Linked DNA regions of Homo sapiens: regions 2, 3, 4 and 5 are each linked to region 1. The links are contacts of gene promoters, found by promoter capture Hi-C in blood cells and fetal thymus (Javierre and others, 2016). All regions are on one chromosome and are shown on one strand. The core of a region is centred on a gene start or on the middle of the fragment in contact, and the rest is flanking DNA. Distances in the headings are between cores, read along the strand shown.

What was found. The method cuts DNA at HindIII sites, captures the fragments that hold promoters and counts their contacts. A CHiCAGO score of 5 or more calls a contact.
Region 2: a contact is called between a fragment that was not itself captured here and the fragment with the promoter of LCE1F in region 1, in 3 of 17 cell types (endothelial precursors, M1 macrophages and M2 macrophages). The highest score is 6.8, in endothelial precursors.
Region 3: a fragment that was not itself captured here is called in contact with the fragment with the promoter of LCE1F in region 1 in 4 of 17 cell types (M1 macrophages, M0 macrophages, M2 macrophages and 1 more); the score reaches 9.2 in M1 macrophages.
Region 4: a contact is called between a fragment that was not itself captured here and the fragment with the promoter of LCE1F in region 1, in 4 of 17 cell types (M1 macrophages, M2 macrophages, erythroblasts and 1 more). The highest score is 6.9, in M1 macrophages.
Region 5: a fragment that was not itself captured here is called in contact with the fragment with the promoter of LCE1F in region 1 in 2 of 17 cell types (M2 macrophages and M0 macrophages); the score reaches 6.5 in M2 macrophages.

What each region holds. Positions count from the first base shown.
Region 1 is chr1:152,773,079-152,776,941 of GRCh38, reverse strand. LCE1F (late cornified envelope 1F) reads right to left here and starts at 1,802. Exons shown (of 2, transcript NM_178354.3): 1 at 1,752-1,802; 2 at 1-592. The coding sequence starts at 570. The coding sequence ends at 214. The HindIII fragment of the contact is 9,364 bases long and covers 1-3,863 here.
Region 2 is chr1:153,284,850-153,288,712 of GRCh38, reverse strand. No RefSeq gene overlaps it. Among named protein-coding and RNA genes, the nearest start is that of PGLYRP3, 26 kb to the left of the region's middle. The HindIII fragment of the contact is 2,378 bases long and covers 413-2,790 here.
Region 3 is chr1:153,175,139-153,179,001 of GRCh38, reverse strand. LOC101928009 (a long non-coding RNA gene) reads right to left here. Exons shown (of 3, transcript NR_110685.1): 2 at 2,362-2,889. It also overlaps a transcript of SPRR2G not described here. Among named protein-coding and RNA genes, the nearest start is that of SPRR2G, 26 kb to the right of the region's middle. The HindIII fragment of the contact is 5,568 bases long and covers 1-3,863 here.
Region 4 is chr1:153,152,787-153,156,649 of GRCh38, reverse strand. It overlaps a transcript of SPRR2G not described here. Among named protein-coding and RNA genes, the nearest start is that of SPRR2G, 3.8 kb to the right of the region's middle. The HindIII fragment of the contact is 830 bases long and covers 1,772-2,601 here.
Region 5 is chr1:153,039,170-153,043,032 of GRCh38, reverse strand. It overlaps SPRR2D (small proline rich protein 2D), which reads left to right and starts at 1,913. Exons shown (of 2, transcript NM_006945.5): 1 at 1,913-1,955; 2 at 2,668-3,301. The coding sequence starts at 2,687. The coding sequence ends at 2,905. The HindIII fragment of the contact is 725 bases long and covers 1,447-2,171 here.

The DNA of each region.
Region 1 (3,863 bases), core at 553-3,052:
TTGGTATTCCCAGGCCAGGCGCACAGATGGAATCAGAGGTCAGAAGAGGAATTCTTGTGAGAGGGCAGATTTCTGGATTCTAGGTCGGAGGAATCTTCCAGGACAGAGTTTGAAATCTTTACTAAAATGTCCCAGCAACACAGTCAGTCCCAAGGAAGATGAAGTTGCCCCTTTCATGCCTCTAAATCTGCTCTTTTAGGCACAGGGTCCACTTCAGCAGCAGCCTCCAGAGTGCTGGCCACTGCCCCCTCCGCAGCAGCTGGAGCCCGCTGAGGGCTGGCTGCAGCAGTCAGAGCTCTGGGGTCTGTGGCGGTGGGACCTACGCCGTCTGTGGTGGCTCAGGCAACAGCCGCCTCCCCCAGAGCTGCAGCAGCCACCACCCCCAGAGCTGCAGCAGCCCCCAGAGCTGGAGCCACAGCAGCCTCCGGAGCTGACGCTGCAGCAGGAAGAGACAGGAGGGCACTTAGGGGGACACTTTGGGGGGCACTTCGGTGTGGGGCACTTGGGAGGGCACTTGGGAGTGCACTTGGGAGGGGGCTGGCACTGCTGCTGGCTCTGCTGGCAAGACATCTCGGTGGCGGGTGTTCAGGAGCTGAAGGAGGGTCAGACAGCAAGTTAGATGGAGGCAGAGGACACCCCTGCCTATTCTTGTCCTTTCTGCATTATTTCTAGATCCTTCATTTTGAAAGCCTTATATCAAACATAGGAAAATCACCTCTAATGTTTTTATCACTCTCAATGTTTACCAAGTGCTTTCATTCATGGATTCTCATTTCAAACCTTATTTGAGATGTTGTCATGCAATATATAATCTCCAAATATGTAAATAAAGTTTCTGCTCATTAAAAGCTCCTAAGTGTGGGAGAGAAGTCCAGGAAATAAATTGGCTCCGGGCCAGCATTCATTCTATCACATCACCAAGAATTCTGAAAATGTTCAATGTTGAGACCAGTTTAGAGATGAAAATCTCTTTAAGGAAAAATCAAAATAAATTTCTATTGGAAGAACTGATATATTTCAGTTTGCAGAAATAGAGAAAACTATAACCGCAAAGGATGTTGGAGTCAATTTGTTCCAACCAACTCAATATATAAATAAAGAAACTGAAGCCAAAAGAGGTAACTTCACTGGCCCAAAGTTATTCATTAACAGTCACATTTGTTCCGGGGTCCCCTGGTTCCCATCCTGGGCTCTGCCCTTTAGCACATCCTGCCTCCCCAGGCCTGTCCCCAGGCACTGTCACATGGCTTTTAAACTCCAGTGTGCACTCAGTTTTCCACTACAGATCTTCTTGTTGGCATCTAACAAGATCCACAGGTGTCTTTGATCCTTTCTTCCTCTAAGTAGCAGTGTTCTCAGCATATCTTTTCTAAAAGTGAGTATGTCTGTATTTCCAAAATTATATTCCCACTATGCAGCCCACTCTAGCAACATCCAGTGGCCAATGTGTTTATTCTCTAAAACCAGAGAAACACACTGAGCAACTGAAAACAATTTGGTTCCTCTAAATCTGTGTCATACAGCCCTTCAGATCTTACCAGTTCTTCTTAATCTCTCTCACTCCACCCCACCCCTCTACCTCCTCTTTCCAATTTTCTGCCCCCACCCCATTCCTTGCCAATCACAATTCCAGGCCCCTGAGGCCCTGCCTAGACTCTACTCCTGCCCTGGTCTGAGTATCCATCCCCTCCTTCCCTGGCCTGGGCATCCCTCTGTGGAAGCCCCTGCTCCTTTTTCCAGGGCACACTTACCAGGATCACAGGCAGCACAGGGTTCTTCAGCACCGCAGGAGGTGAGTGGATGGGATGCTCTGGCCCTGAGCCCTTTTATTCTGTCCTTGGGTGCTGCCTCCAGCGGTGAGACAGAGCCTGGGCATGAGAGGACCTGCCTCCCGACACCCACATAGGTCTTGTGACGAGTGGTGACTGGCAGTTCTGCATATACCGTCCTTCATTGGTGTTCAGGGGAGCTGCTGTCAGCTAGGAAAGAGCTTGGTGGAAATGGGGGCTTGTGGTGGGTGAAAATGGACATCATGGTTCCTGGAGTCCTCCGTGGCCTATTTCCTATGAAGATGGCTCTCTTCACAGTCTTGTAGTCACACTTATGAATTCTGCACAAACAACTCATTTTTCCTTCTATTCTAGATACTAATTTTCCATCTAGACCTTTGGGTCCATATAGCTTGGTTAAAAATCCACATGCCTGCATTATGGGGTTTGTCCATGTGCACATGGGCATGTGTGTGCATCATAGAAGTCGAGAAAAGAGGCCTTGGAGACCCTGGCAAAGTATTCAATATTTTTGGCCATTGGCTTTCTGATGTTTTAAATGAAGATAATAAGAGAAATATCTTTTCTGCAGGATTTACAAATTAATTAAGATAACAAAGGGGAAGTAGCTGAGATAGTATGTGGCATGTGGTTATAATTAGGAAATGGATGAATAGGTAGATAGATAGATAGATAGATAGATAGATAGATAGATAGAAAGAAAAATAGAGGCAAACCTGAGATTTTAATGGACATTGGGAATTTTTAAAGTCACAGGTGCCTTTTAAGTTAGGTGGCTCTTATTAAAACTAAAGGCCATTTTTTTTTCCTCCTACGTACCTCAGTGAATAGGGCTTTCTGAAGGTAGATCCAGAGTGGGTATAAGAAAAGAGGACTAAAGGATGTATATTGCCCCAAATTATAGCATAAAAGAATTTGCAGTTTCCTGAGGAAAAGCTGAAGGGATGAGGTAAAATAAAGATGAGAAGGGTGAAGAGAAGAGAACAGCCAATGAGGTGGCTTTGAACTGTGACTTGGAGTGGTGTAGTTGGTATAGACAAGAATAGACATAGTCAATATTTAATTTGAAATTATTGGCTTTGTTGCAATACACATTTCCTGGGTTTAATTTCCCAGTTTCCCATGCTCAAAACTAACCAAATGCAAAATCTAACAATAAAAAACCAATATTTGAAAAATAAATATGGTCAAAATTACATATAACATCAAAGAATTATTGGATGGTTTTAGCAGATTATAAGTTGCAGAAGAACAGATCGGTGAACTTGAAGAAATTGTTCAAACTGAACTGAAGAAAGGGAAAAATATTAAAAAAATGAACAGATGATCAGTGACCAGTGGAATAATATCAAACATTCTAGCACCCATGTATTTAGAGTTTCAGGAAGAGAACTACAAACCACTGCCCAAGGAAATAAAAGAGGATACAAACAAATGGAAGAACATTCCATGCTCATGGGTAGGAAGAATCAATATCGTGAAAATGGCCATACTGCCCAAGGTAATTTATAGATTCAACGCCATCCCCATCAAGCTACCAATGACTTTCTTCACAGAATTGGAGAAAACTACTTTAAAGTTCATATGGAACCAAAAAAGAGCCCTCATTGCCAAGTCAATCCTAAGCCAAAAGAACAAAGCTGGAGGCATCACGCTACCTGACTTCAAACTATACTACAAGGCTACAGCAACCAAAACAGCATGGTACTGGTACCAAAACAGAGATATAGAACAATGGAACAGAACAGAACCCTCAGAAATAATGCTGCATATCTACAACTATCTGATCTTTGACAAACCTGACAAAAACAAGAAATGGGGAAAGGATTCTCTATTTAATAAATGGTGCTGGGAAAACTGGCTAGCCATATGTAGAAAGCTGAAACTGGATCCCTTCCTTACACCTTATACAGAAATTAATTCAAGATGGATTAAAGACTTACGTGTTAGACCTACAACCATAAAAACCCTAGAAGAAAACCTAAGCAATACCATTCAGGACATAGGCATGGGCAAGGACTTCATGTCTAAAACACCAAAAGCAATGGCAACAAAAGCCAAAATTGACAAATG
Region 2 (3,863 bases), core at 352-2,851, 510 kb before region 1:
ACAGAAAGGGAGGGAGAATGGCTGGAGATACAAACCTGCTGGGACAGTTGCTTGCTACACGGGTGGGGGGTGGGGGTGGTTGGCATCCTGGTACGTCTGGCCACAAAACTGCTCTTGGCACATCAGGGGCCAGAGTGGTGAGGCTGTCTGTCCCAAGAGTTGGAGGTCAGAGGAACTAAGCCTCCCCTGCCTCCAGGCTGGGGCCCCAGCACTGCCTTGGGACTAGTCTCCTACCTGTCTAGTCTCCTGCTAGCACTGTCCTCATGTATATTCATGCCCACGTTTTACCTCTTTCCCCAAGCTTCCTTCCCAACCCCCTACCACTCAGCAGAGAAAATTGAGGCCATCTGGCAGGATCTCTGTCCACTTCTTGCAACCTTGCAAATGTTCTTGCAACCACATTCCCAAAGCTTCCTTGACATCAGCTTCAGAGGGTCAACTTTTCACTCCTTCCTTCCATCCCATCCTGTTCACATTCCTTGAGCTCTCTTTTTAAACTCATCACTTTTACCTCCTAAATTTATATTTACAGTGGAAACTTTTTTTTTTTTTTTGAGACAGAGTCTCTCTCTGTCTCCCAGGCTGGAGTGCAGTGGTGCGATCTTAGCTCACTGCAACCTCCGTCTCCCGGGTTCAAGCGATTCTCCTGCCTCAGCCTCCTGAATAGCTGGGATTACAGGTGCCCACCACCACGCCTGGCTAATTTTTGTATTTTTAGTACAGATGGGGTTTCACATTGTTGATCAGGCTGGTCTCTTATCTCCTGACCTCAGGTGATCTGCCCACCTCGGCCTCCCAAAGTGCTGCAATTATAGGCGTGAGCCACTGCACCCGACCACATTTTTCTTTAATACAGGTTCAAATTCTGCCATGTATTTATCTCTCAATGTGTGTGTGTCATAGAACATCTAATTCATGCCCAAAGCCAAACTCTTGATCTTGCCTCAAAAGCTCTCCTACCACAGTCTTCCTCACCTCAGTAAATGGCACTTCCACTCTCAGGCCTGGTATTGTGGCCAACTGACCCTGAGCCTGCCCTTAGCTCTCCAAGTGAACTTTGGGCACACCACCCTAATACTGAACCAGGCATGTTGGTAACAGTGTGGTGTTCATATAGTAAGCCAAGGGTGAGATGTGGAAGGACTCTTATGCTTGATTCATGCTATGGAGCCTGCATGGAGCTTCATGATCTGTAGCCAAATGACAAAAACCTTGGGTCACCACTGACTTCTTCTTTCCTCCCATTCTCCTCATCTGGCTGGCTCTGCCTTAAAAATATATTATTTCAGCCACTTCTCAGCCCCTCTCTTGCTACCACTCTGGTTCAAGTCACCTTTACCTGAAGTGCTGCAATAGCCTCTTAATCGGTCCCTCTGATTCTGACGTCCTTCAGCCCTTAAGTCTATTCTCAACACAGAAGACAGAGAGATCTGGTTAAAATCCATGTCAGATCCTGTCTTTCCTCAGCTCAAGACCCTCTGATGGCTCCCCATGTCACTCGCAGTAAGAGCCAAGGTTGTTACCAAGACCTAAAAGGTCCTACATGATCCAGCTTCTCATTTTGTCTCTGACCACACATTCTACTCTTCTTTCTCTCACTGCTCTAGCCTCACTGGCCTCTTTGGTGTTCCTTGACCATCCCAGGCAGGCTTCTGCCTCAGGGTCTTAGCTTTGCTGTTCCCTCTGCCTGCAGTGCTTTTCCCTCAGATACTCACATAGCCCTCTCTCTCATATCCTTCAGGCTTTTACTCAAGTGCCACTTTCTCAATGAGGCTTTTCCTGGTCACCCCACCCACAACTGCAACACCCCTTCCTGCCAGCACTGTCTCCTTTCTTTGCTTTATTGCACCCTCTTTCATACAATGTATTTACCCATTTATCTTGTTTATCTCCCCCAACTAGAATGTCAGCTCTGTGGAGGGTAGGGATTTTCAGCTGTTTTGTTTTCTAGTTCTTGTACATAGTAAGAATCAAAAAAATATTTGTAGAATGAATATATTGAATGCATCTTCACATACTCTCTCTCTTCATGCTCACAGTTTATAAAGATACTCAAGATTCTTTCATCCTGAAACAATTTGGACAAAACAACAACAAAAATAAATCTGTTTTAACTCCACTGCTCTCTCTAGTTACTTTCTAATCTCTTCTTTATTCTTCTCACTCACATCTCTAGAAAGATTATTCTCTTTCTCACGTCTCATTTACTCTGCACTACACTTATGCCCTTACCCCCACTTGGCGCTGCTCCACTGAAATTGCTCTTACTTGGTTTCCTAAGGACGTCGTAAAGCCAAGTCCAAGGGGGCAGTTGTCACTCACTCCTCTTCTTACAGTCTTAACTGTATCTGACACACCTGATTATTTTCTTACATATTTTTGAAACCTTTCATTTCCTGTGGCTCTGGTGGCAATACACCCTCCAGATTTCTTTCTTCTTGTCTTTTCATTGTTTTCCTTAAGGGCTCCTTTCCCTCCCCCATCATGAGGATCCTCTCCATTTGCTTTCCCTGAGTGATGTCACCAGGTATTTTGTCATCATGTCTTCTTAGGCTCCTCCTGGCTGTGACAGCTTCTGGGACATCCTTTGTTTTTGATGACTTTGACAATGTTGAGGATTACTGGTCAGGCATTTTGTAAAATGTCCCTCAATTGGGATTTGTCTAATTTTTCTCATGATGAGAATGGGGTTATGGGATTTTGGGAGAAAGAGTGCAGAGATAGCAATGAGCACACCTAGTAGCCAGATCTTGGTTTCTAGTACCATTCTCTAAGAAATAAACCAAAGCTTCTTGGAGAAATGGCTGACTCTAGGATTGGGAAGAAATATACAATATAAGCTTGGAACCTCTTATAGTACCAGTAAGTAAGGCACTACTCAAAAATAGTAATAGTAAAATGGTGGGGTAAATAAAAAAATATGAGAGCCAACTGAAAGAGTTCTTAACAGCTAAAATCAAACAATTTGAACAAGAACATAAATGAATTAGTATTGGATTATAACCTAGAGCATAAAATAAACATCCATGACTCCATACCAACATAAACAAATAATTGAATAAATAAATAAATGGAAGAGAAGAGAAAAAAGTATTGCAAATAATTTATGTAGATCCTCTGTCCTGAAGAAAGTAGAACGTAACTCCCCACTCCTTAAGTATGGATTGCACATGTGACTTCCGTCCAAAGAGTGCCATGTGCAAAGGGGGAATAAAAGTAACTTTACAGTGGAGAAACCTGACTAATGCTACATTGCCAGATGATCAAGGTCAACCCAATAGTGATGTCATGGTGATAGTGTGTACCCTTTGATATGATGTGATGAAAATGGCACCACCTTTAGTCAATGGCACAAATGTTATAAATATTTGCTTGCACATTTTTGTGGACCTAAGTTCTCAAATCAGTTGGGTAGATTCTTAGAAGTATGATTACTGGATCATGTGCTAAGACTAGGTTTAACTTTGTAAAAAACTTCCAAACTATCTCCCCAAAGAGCTATACCATTTTGTATTCACTAGTAACAAATGATAGTTCCTGTTGCTCCGCATCCTTAGCAGCATTTGGTATTATCAGCTTTCTGGATCCTGACCATTCTCATAGATGTATAATAATATCTCATTGTTATTTTAATTTGCAATTCCCTAATGACAAATTATATTTAGCATCTTTTCATATGTTTATTTGCCATCTGCATTTCTTATTTGGTGAGATGTCTGCTTAAATGTTTTGTCTGTTTCGTAATTAAGTTGTTTGTTTTTTTATTGTTGAGTGTTAAAAGATCTTTGCATATTTTGGATATAAGTGCTTTATTAGATTGTGTTTTACAAATATTTTTCCCAGTCTATGGCTTGTCTCTTCAT
Region 3 (3,863 bases), core at 840-3,339, 400 kb before region 1:
CTGGTTCTGTTCCTCTCATTGTACCCTGACTGAGACAATCTCTAAAATTATTACAGAAATAAAACCCATAGTTTAAAACCTTCCCATATAGAATGCCCCAGGTCCAAAAGGATTAACTGGTGAATTATACCACACACTTAAGAAATAAAAATTTCAATCATACATAATTTCTTTCATAAAACAGAGAAAGAGGGAATATTCACCAAGTCTTTTTCAGGTTAACGTAGCCCTGATATTGAAACTTGACAAGGACATTAAATGAAAAGAAAGTTACAGATCGTTATTCCTCAGGAGCATAGAAGCAAAAATCCTTAAGAAAATATCAGTAAATTGAGTCTAGCAATATATTAAGAGGATTTGTCACAGAATGCAAGGTTTATTTAATATTATAAATGTAATTCACCAAATTAACTGAATAAAGGAAGAAATTATATCATCTGAATAGATGTAGAGAAAGCATTTGACAAAATTCAACATGCATTGAGGATAAAACTCTTGCAAACTAGGAATAGAAAGAAATTTTCTCTATGCGATGAAGGTCATCTATGAAAAGCCTTGGCTAACATTATATTAATTGTGAAATATTTTTCCCCTAATATCAGAAACAAGGCAAGTATATCCCAATTTACTACTTCTATTCTAACATTTCCTGGAAGTTCCAGCCAGTGCAATAAGGTAAGAAAAATAAGTACAAGCATGGATTGGAAAGAAGAAGCACAAATGTCTTTACTCACAAATGGCATAATTGCCCATGCAGAAATTCCTAAGAAACTTATAGAAATATGTATTGGAACTAATATGGAACTTTATCAAGGCCACAGAATACAAGGTCAATATATAGAAATCAATTATATTTCTATAAACCATCACCACACAATTGGAAATAAAATTTAGAAATAACTTTATGACAGCATAAAAGATAAAATGTTAGTAATATATTTAACAAAAATTTGTAAGTCTGCTACACTGAAAATAATAAAACAATCTGGAGAAAAACTAGACAGGATCCAAATAAATGAAGAGATATAGGTTCACATATTGGATAACACACTATTTTGAATGTATCAGTCCTCTTAAATTGATCTATTTATTCCTTGCAATCCTAATAAAAATCCCAGCTGGCTTTTTTTTTTGGAGGACTTAATGGACCAAATTTAAAATTTACATGGAAATTCAAAGAATCTAGAAAAGTTTAAACAATCTTGGAAAATAACAAAGTTGTAGGTCTCACACTATCTGGTTTCAATACTTACTATAAATGCTCATCAATCAAGAATGTGTGGTTTTGGTGTATGAATACACATATAGATAAATGAAAAGCATAAAGAACTCAGAAATAGACCTACATTTATGTTCAAGTGAAAATGTATAAATGACCAAAAAGCATGTGAAATCCTTAACCATATTATCAGTCAGGGAAATGCAGTTAAAAAGCCCCATAAGATATCATTTCAGACCCACAAAAATGGCTAATATTAAAATTAATGACAAAGCAAGTGTGGCAAGGAGGTGGAGCCCCTGGAACTCTCATACAGTGCTAGTATGAATGTAAGGTGGCACAATCAATGCAGAAAACAATTTGGCGGTTTCTTATAAAGTTAAACATACAACCATGCTATGACCAAGAAGCTCTGCCCCTAAATATTCATTTAAGAGAAATAACATGTCCACGAAAGACTTGTACATAAATATTCGTAACAACTTTGTTCATATAGCCCCAAATTGTAATAACCTAAATGTCCATCTGCAGGTAAATCAATAAATTATGGAAAATTCATACAATGAAATACTGCCTAGCATTAAGAAAACTTAAGAAAGTATTAAAAAAGCAGGAATTTGATGTGTATCAAGACACTATGTTTAGCAAATAAGCCAAACACAGCAGAGTACGTTCTGTATGATTCTATGTATATAAATCATATTAAAACGTGCTTAACAACACTATTAGTCAGGGAAATGCAGAATAAGGAAAACTAACCTATGGTGAGGAATCTGAACAGTGCCTTTGGGAGGGGATTAACTAACTGCAAGGGGGCATTGGAAATATTCTAGATCCCCCTTGCGCTCACAGGTTTCAGGGGCTGTTATGATAGGATTATGGTTTCTATTTACTTTTCTCATTGTTCTAAGTTCTTTGTTGAGATAAAATTACACTACCAGAAATCTACATACTTGAATTATCTTACTCACATTAGCCTTAATGAGACAATGCATTATTGCTGGGCTTTTTCACTTTTACTGACATGGACTGCAAGAACTGGCTATATGAAATCTGAGTCTGCTTTCATCTCGCCCCTTGATAAATGCCTTCTCTGTGAGCCCCAGGAGTGCTAGAAAAAGTAGACTTTGTCACACCCATACCGACATGGTGTGTTTTCTCCTCCAAGGCTCTTCTTCCAGGTAAGGGTAAACTGTTGTTGGTACCTGTACAGCTGCCAAAGTGGAATTTTCTTTGAAAGTCAGAAGTTAGATTTCAGGAATTGAAGTGAATCAAAATTGTTGGGGAAATACTTTTTATGTGTTCCAGACCAGTTTTATCTAGGATAAAAGTTTCCAAGTCTGTCTTATTCATGCCAGTGGGATCTTCTGAGGACAAGAGCACCTTGGACAGGTGGGGGTAGGAGGTAACTAAAACTGACAAGCAGACATGGACAATGGATAAATACATGGGTGAGTAACAAACATGAGTGCATAAAGGAAGTTCCAGGAAGAAGAAAATCCAAAGTCCACGTGTTCCAACTGCTGAACTGAGGTCTAGAAATGTAAAGTAACTTGTCTAGGGTTACATAGCCAATACTAGGACCCAGTTAGCGAGTTGACAGTGCCCTATTCCTTCTCTGGCAGTATCAGGTCTCACCTCCCCTTGCTTGCATGGCCAAGTCTTCATTTCTAGGAGGAAAGAGAAATGAACCGGACTGTAAAAACCATTCAACATTTTTTTTTTTGAGATGGAGTTTTGATCTGTCACCCAGGCTGGAGTGCAGTGGCATGATCTCGGCTCACTGCAGCCTCTGTCTCCGGGGTTCCAGCAATTCTCCAGTCTCAGCCTCCTGGGTAGCTGGGATTATAGGCATGCACCACCACATCTGGCTAATTTTTGTATTTTTAGTAGAGACGGAGTTTCACCGCCCTCAGGTGATCCACCTGCCTTGGCCTCCCAAAGTGTTGGGATTACAGGCGTGAGCCACCACATCTGGCCAAGAAATATTTATTGAGGCCTCATATGTCTTAGGAACTGTGAGGTGCTGGGCATATAGCAGTGGTGAATAACACATGGAATTTAAATTCAGCAAGGATAACAGACATTAAACAAAACAAATGGTTACCTTGATAATTACTTAAGTATAATGGTTACATGTGTCATGAAGGAGTTGTTCAGATTTATAAAAGCATAAAACAGGGAACTAACCTCATCTGAAAGAATCCATGAGAGTTTGCCTGAACCTTGTATGGAACATGAAAGTCCATCAGGGAGAGTTCCTGGCTGAGAGAGCAGCATGTGTGAAGGCTGGGAGGGAAGAACGAACCTGGCACATATCGGGAATAGAGAGACCAGGGCCTGTTAAGCCAAACCCAGGGAGAGGAGCGTTGCATGGACTGGACTTACGGGAACAGCCAAACAATTAGAACCTTACGGGTCAATGTTAAGGCGTTCAACTATTTTTTCTAAGTGTAACAGGAAGCCATTGAAGGAAGGACAGCAGGCAGGATAACACAACTGCCTTTGTATTTTTGAAAGATCATTTTGGCAGAGTGGTGTTTAGCTTATAGGGGATTGGGAGTTGAAGACCAGTTAAGAGGTTCTTACGATTAGTCCAAGTGAGAGATGATGGTACCTGGATGAAGGTAGAAAGAATGAAATG
Region 4 (3,863 bases), core at 937-3,436, 380 kb before region 1:
AAACAAACTTCTCTACCAATCAGCAGTGGGCAGTGAATGGTGAGGGTGAGGGAGGATAGGGAAAACAGCGCGTATTTAAATGTACTGCTCTTACCAAATGTTATAAAAATAATATTTAATATTCTACTACCTCTGTCACAGGAGACATGAACTAAAGAAACTCTGCAATGTCAGCGTCTTAAAATTCTTTAGACAATTCCTTTTGTAATCCATTGGCAAGATACATGGTGTTTACAAAGTTATTCAGCAATCACATGCATTGGAACAAATTGTCATGGAGTATCCAAATATAGGAGCCCCAAATCTAAATAGTCAAGGCTCTATTATCTGTAATTCCAATTGCTATAGGTAGGTGTGTGGATTTTGGCAGGGCTAATGTAGTGGAAAGATGAGATGTCTGGAAAATCATGAAATCACAGAGTAATTCAGTAGAATATTAAATGTTATTTTTTTCTAGTCACAGAGGTAATAGCATATTCTTTCCCTCAGAACTCACAAGATTGTTGTGACACTCATGTAAGGCAACACAATTTAGAAACTAAAATCATTATTTTTTTAACAACTATTTATCTAGCACGTACTCTGTTTCAGGTATTGGATCATGTCCTGAGTGTAGGTGAAGTTGCAGTCTGACTACTCAAAGTGCTCGCAAGCTCAAGGGAAAAGGATATGGGTGGGGAATCCACTTAATGCAGATGGGTTGCACTTAACACTTAATGCAAAGCTCAGAGTGTTTTATGGGACTCTTAGGTAGGGTCACCTGCCCTAATAGGAGGGATCCAGGAAGGCTTTTCATTGAAGTGATGGCTTTTAGAGAATTGTGTAGACATTAACCCGGTAAAACAATAATAATATGGCATATTACAGGTTAGTAAATAAATTCACTGAGGATAGAAAAAACTGGTATGTCAGCAAAATTACAGAGTTTGATACATGACAGCACACAGTTCAAAAAGTGGAGTAATAAGGAATGAGGCTAGAGGCGAAGGAAGGGCTATGTAATGGACCTAGAACTTAAAGTATTTTAAGCATGCAAGTGATGTAGTCAGATTTTACTTTTTAATGTATCACTCTTATGGCAATGGAAAGATGGATTTAAATCAAACAAGATAGAGGAAGACAGCTATATTAGGAAGCTATGGTAATAATCGAGCAAGAGATGAGGAGGCTCTGAACTAGGGCATGGCAGTCAGCATAGAAGGAGAGAGATGGATTCCAGAGATACTTATGCTGTTGAACTGTCAGAATGAGGAGTTTAGATAAGTAGCATGTAGTAGAGGCGAAAATGTCAAGGTAACTCAAGTAGCTGGGTGATTATTGGTGTACAGGATAGAGAATACTGGAGGTTCAAGTGGTTTGTGGGAAAGATGATCAGCTTGTTGGTACTTGAGGATATTTGGACAGAGATATCTAGAGGGCAAGGGGATATTTAAGTTTGAAGTGAGTTCTGGAGTGCAAATGTAGATGAGTGAGTTAGTAGATTTGTGATGACTGAAACCATAGGAATCATTGATATTGTAACTAGAGAATGCATAGGATGGTAAGATCCATGGAATGAGCACCAGAGGACTCCATTTGGCATTTAGAAGAAGAGGTTCAGATCAAGGAGGAGAAAGATTAAGCACAGGAGTAGGAGAATATTAAGTGGATATTATGAAAACCAGTAAGTAGAGACTCTAGAGAAAGATGGAATGATTGGCACTGTGACATGTAGCAGAGAAGTCTAGGAAGATAAAAACGGAGAATGACTCAGTTTATCTGACAGAAAGCTTGGAATAATTTCAGTAGATGGTGGGCTAAATCCAGACTGCCATGGGTTGAGGGGTTAGTGAGATGTGGGACAGAAGAGACAGCAGTTGTAGATGACTCATTTGACAAACCTCTAGCTAGACTAATAAAGAAAAAAGGAGAGAAGATTCAAATTAATAAAATCAAATATGAAAGAGGAGATATGAAAACTGATGCCATGGATATAAAAAAGATCCTAAGAGACTGCTTATGAACAACTATATAGCAATAAATTGGATAACCTAGAAGAAATTGATAAATTACTAGAAACATGCAACCTACTGAGACTGAATCATGAAGAAATAGAAAATCTGGACAGACCAATAACGAGTAAGGAGATTAAATCAGCAATATAAATACTGTGATCAAAGAAAAATCCAGGACCACATGGCTACAGTAGTAAACTCTACCAAACATTTAAATAACTAATGTATTAATAAATTATTATTAAACTTTTCCAAAAATTGAGGAGAGACCACTTCCAAATTCATTGTATGAGGATGGCATTACCCTGATACCAAAGCCAGATAAGAACATTATAAAAAAATTACAGGCCAACATCCCTGATGAATATAGAAGCAAAAAGATTCAACAAAATACTAGCATACCTAGTAGTCCATTAAAAGAATAATGCAACATGATCAAGTGGGATTTATCCCTGAGATGCAAGGATGGATGGTTCAATAAATTTCTTTCTTTTCTAAAAAAAAAAAAAGATGGTTCAGTGTAGGCAAATCAATAAATGTGATACACTACATAAACAGAATAAAGGATACAAATTGTATGATAATCTAAATAGAGGCAGATAAAGCTTTCCACAAAATACAACATCTTTTCATGATTAAAACACTCAACGAATTAGGTATAGAAGAAATGTATCTCAACATAATAAAGGCCATATGTGAGTAACCCACAGCTAATATATTCGAGGGTGAAAAATTAAAAGCTTTTCCTCTAAGATCAGGAGCAAAGCAAGGACACTCACTCTTGCCATCTCTGTTCATTTCTAATTCTATTATTTTTAAATTCTATATTCTCAAAAACTTAAAGGCATATTATGTAGTAGCAGCATATCTTTATTTATTAAAATAGAAATAATTTTATTGGGAGCTTAAAGAACTAGGCTATAAATGTTAAATCAAGTAAAATCAAATGGCCCTTGGGAAATGTCATCCTCTCTCTCTTTCCCCTTTCCTCTTCTTTCCACTCGCCTGTCTTCTACCCTCTCTACCTTCCTTCGTTTCTTCATTTCTGGGACTCCCATAAAATAGCTTTGTCCTTCTTTTCAAAATCTTTAGGCAAATCAGGAACTTTGGGACCAGGTAATTCAGCCTCATAATTCCCAGCTTTACACGGTTGTTTTACTAGGCTTACTATTTATTTTATTTGCACCTTACAAAAATGTCCGTCAGAGAAGTATTATTATTACCATTTCTCAATGAAGAAACTGAAAATTGCAGAAATGTTAAGAAAATTGCTCAAATTTACACACCTAATTAGGACTTAACTCAATCATTGTGTTTATACAGTGCCAGTTTGCTAACATAGTATTTACTCACAGATTTATTTATTTCAATTTTAAAATATCTTTGAACATTTAAATATTTAAACACTTTGAATAAGCAAAAAATATACATGATACCAAAATTCAAAAGAGAAGAAAATGGTCATGCAGTGAAAAGTTAGTCTCTCCCCCACTCCTATTCCCTAGATACTTAACTATTCTCCTGAGATAACCACGGTTACTAGTTTATAAGTAAACTCCAGCAAACCCTCATGTAGATACTATGTGAGTTTCAGAGGTTTAATTTGCACAGAGTGCTTCAAGTGCCCATTATTTGTGAAAAATGAGGATCATCTGTCCTTTAGCTATTTTCTCTCTCTATAAAAAAACTGTCCTTTGTGAAGCTGGCAAACCTCATTAAGCATTCTTTTCTGAAAAGCCCAATCCTCCTTCAGTTTATCAAGCATAAATGATAAACCAAATAATTTATTGGTAAAAATAACTTTGGAATCTATTAGTAATTCATGAGGCAAAGAAAAGTAGGTCTAAAATTGTGTTGATAGAACTGTTT
Region 5 (3,863 bases), core at 560-3,059, 270 kb before region 1:
GATAAGCAGCCTGTTTGAGTGGGGTGTCCTAAGAAGGGGAGTCTCAGGTTGTGACCCAAACTGTGTTATCTCACACAGTGATCTCATTTGGCAGCGAATTCTTCAATTTTGCATGGCAGAAATTAGACATTTCTCTATGGATTTATGTTTTAGATGTGATGTGAGGCTCTTGGGGAGTAGTGGGTGATTTATTGAGTAAAGGACTTTTACTTTGGCTGGTGAAGTGCGTGGCATGTGTAATAGTCTATAGGAAGCATTTGGTGAGAACACCATTTGTAATCACCTGGCCTCAGGGTGCTGACATGATGGCTCTATTTCTGTAGTGTCCTGGCCAGTGGTGATCTTGGCTAAAAGCTCTTCCTTACTGACAGGAGCAACAGCTGTTCTGGGAACCTAACCTACTTAACTGAGGGATGTGATGCTGGCTTGATTCAACACTCTGCCCTTCCTGGAGCACAGTTGGTGACTGCTCCAGTGATTTTGAGTCTTTCCTCTTCCTCATTCTCCTTTCTTCTTATTCACTTATAAAACCATGTTCTTGGGAAGCTTCCCGATTAATGGTCCAGATAAGGAAGCAGTAGCAACATCACTTTAAATGTTTAATATACAGTACTTAGAAAGGCTCACTGATTGTAGGAAGCATTTAAAAAAGTTGTGAAAGGACAATCACTAAATGCATTGACAACATATGTGTTAAGTGAACAATATGTACCAAAATGGACAGATGACAGGTATACATTGGGTATGAGTTGATAATCTAGCAGTTTGTGGGACTAGAAGGTTTATGGAAAAGACAAAGGAAGAACATGCAAACAAATTAAAAAACACTGAGAAACATCTAAAACCTGTTTGGAAATAGAGAGGAAGAATACATATTGGATTACCCTTTGTTTGTATTTTCCCCTTGAGTTAAACTTTAAGTGCTCTTACCTTCCTCACTCTGCACACCTACTTCTAATTATTTACATATGATAATGTCTATGCAGCTTGTTCTCTATAGGATGTTCACAGGGAACCATATATGCATGGTTCCATACATAGATTTTGAGTCAATACTTGTAACTTTAGTTTCCTTCTCTCCATTACTTTTTATAAATAAAAAGGCTGTAGTACACATCCTTGATGGCACCAAGTAGCAAACGTGCTGTGGAGACTAGATCTCACTCTCAAATCTGTCCTGGGATGCAAGTGCCTCTACGAATGTGGTGCAGAAGCTACAAATGTGGTGCAGAAGACAGCTTCAAAGAGGAAAGGAATATAGGTAAAAATCTGAGGTTTTATCTGAGAAAAAGGTGGCAAAGAAAATTTCAGTCTTGAACAGGGTCAGCAGATAGCACAATGTGGTCAGCCTGCAAACCCAGAGGTAAGTATTATTGTCCCCTGTTTATAATCCCAGGGAGGAGAGGTGACATGCCTGTTGTCATGGAACTTAGCAAAGAAAAAGCTTAGCTCAGGCCTTTGTTAAGTCTCTCCTTCCTTCTAGCACATTGGCCAACTGTATGAGGAAAGTAGAGGTAGAGTTGGGTTCATGTACAACAATATGGCATTCAGCTAGAGTGGATCAGGACAGGAAGTTTTATGACTCAGGGGAGGTAAGATAGGAAGGGATCATTGTTCCCAATCAAGAAAGAGAGCCCTTGACAACCGGTTAGAGAATCCCTCCAATTATCTCTCTGACGAAAGTCACTGAAACTGAGATCTAAGGCAGGTTCTCTGTGACTCATGAGCACTTAACCCAGTGGGGAGATCCCAGAACAGGATATTTCCTAGTTTGAGAATGCCTCTCATGCCAGATATGGATACATTTGCATTTTACTTTGGACATTGCTGGACCAGCCCAGTTTTAGGCAGTTCCACTTCCCACTGGGTGGGGCAGAACGTCCTATAAAGAGGTTCCCTGCTGCACAACTCTTAAACTCCTGGTACTCTAGCACCGATCTGCTTTGGAGAACCTGGTGAGTGTGAGTCCTTGAGTTCCTCAGTTCTTTGTGACCTGAAATATTGAATTTAATCTGAAAACAGCAAGTTTGGTTGATACAATTCTGTAACCATGGGTTTGATTCTACTTAGTAGATGGAAATTTAGATTTAGAGTACAGTGATATGCTATTTTAGCTTGTTTCTTGTATACAGTTAGGTGTCCATACGGACAGAGAAGTTAATAGGAAAGCTTTGAATTGAAGAAGAAAAAAGAACAAAGTATTTTTTCCCCATGTTTTCCTGGTGTCTTTTTCAAAGGTTTGTGTCTTAACAGGTGCCAAGAGCCTGCAATCCTTCCCAAACAGCCCTTTGTTCTGTGCTCAAGTCAACCCACTGGGACTTTACTACAGATAATGATAAGAGAAATGGCTTGTGAGATTGCTCATGGTATCTGAACTTGTCACTGCCTTTCCTAAAGATGTTATTTTCACAGAAATAACATGCTTGGTTCATTACTACAGAGATATTTTCTTTGGAAAAATTGTATGAGAAAACACAAGATTTCCCAGGGCCAATGAAGCAATTTGCTAAAGTGGAAGGGAGAAACGAAGTAGTCTTGAAAAGGCAGTTAAGAGTTTAAATAATTTCTTGGAGATGGGGAAATAATATTTCATGGTATTACATAAGCATTAGCTTCTCTCTCTGGAGGAGTCCCTTCCCACAAACACTGTTGTATCATTTCTTTCAGATCCTGAGACTCCAGCAGGATGTCTTATCAACAGCAGCAGTGCAAGCAGCCCTGCCAGCCACCTCCTGTGTGCCCCACGCCAAAGTGCCCAGAGCCATGTCCACCCCCGAAGTGCCCTGAGCCCTGCCCATCACCAAAGTGTCCACAGCCCTGCCCACCTCAGCAGTGCCAGCAGAAATATCCTCCTGTGACACCTTCCCCACCCTGCCAGCCAAAGTGTCCACCCAAGAGCAAGTAACAGCTTCAGGATTCATCAGGAGCATGAGAGGATAAGGATAATTGGCTCACCTCGTTCCACAGCTCCACTTGCATCTTCTCACCAAAGCCTTCCATGGATGCACAGGGAGCTTCTTTCTCCTTAACCTGTGGCCTGCCTGTGATGATCTGTGACAGCAAAAGATTCCCTTTCTGAGGCTGCCATACTGCCACTGTCCAGGTGGAGCTAAGAAAAGGAAGTCCTCAGCTGTGCCAGCTCCCAGAGCTTCGGAAGAAAGAGCAGCAGCTCTCTCCCTGGGAACCATCAGACAATTCTGTTGATGTGTTCTGTGTCTGTCTGTCACCTGGTCATGAGCTTCTACCACCTTTGCAATTGTCATTTATCTTTCACTCCCTGAATAAAGTATCTATGCATATATATTTGTGAATGGATCTTTTGTTTCTTTTAGAATCTGCTTTATTAGTAATATTATATGATTATTTGGATTTTGTTCTACCTTTCTCTGATCCCCAGGACCAGGATTTCACAATTATTGTTATCTGAATTTTGGGCCATAACAATGATTATTTTTATATCATTTTAAACCCCTTTTATTTTCCTTAATTAGTGTTTGATTGATTTGAAGAACAAATCAATCAGAATTTTAATCTCTTCATTTTAAAATGTGGAAAATAATATTTATATCACTAACTTATCTTAGGCATAAAATGGAATTAATATCAGGAATTCAGTTGACACAATTTCTGACATATCATTACTACTCATTTGATAGTAGTCTATTAGCAGCAGTACATCATCATTAAAACAGAACTATTATTTGACCCAGCAGTCTCACTATTGGGTATATACCCAAAGGAATATAAATCATTCTACCATAAAGACACATGCATGTGTATATTTATCGCAGCCGTGTTCACTATAGCAAAGGCATAGAATCAACCCAAAAGCCCATCAATAGTAGAGTGGATTTTAAAAATGT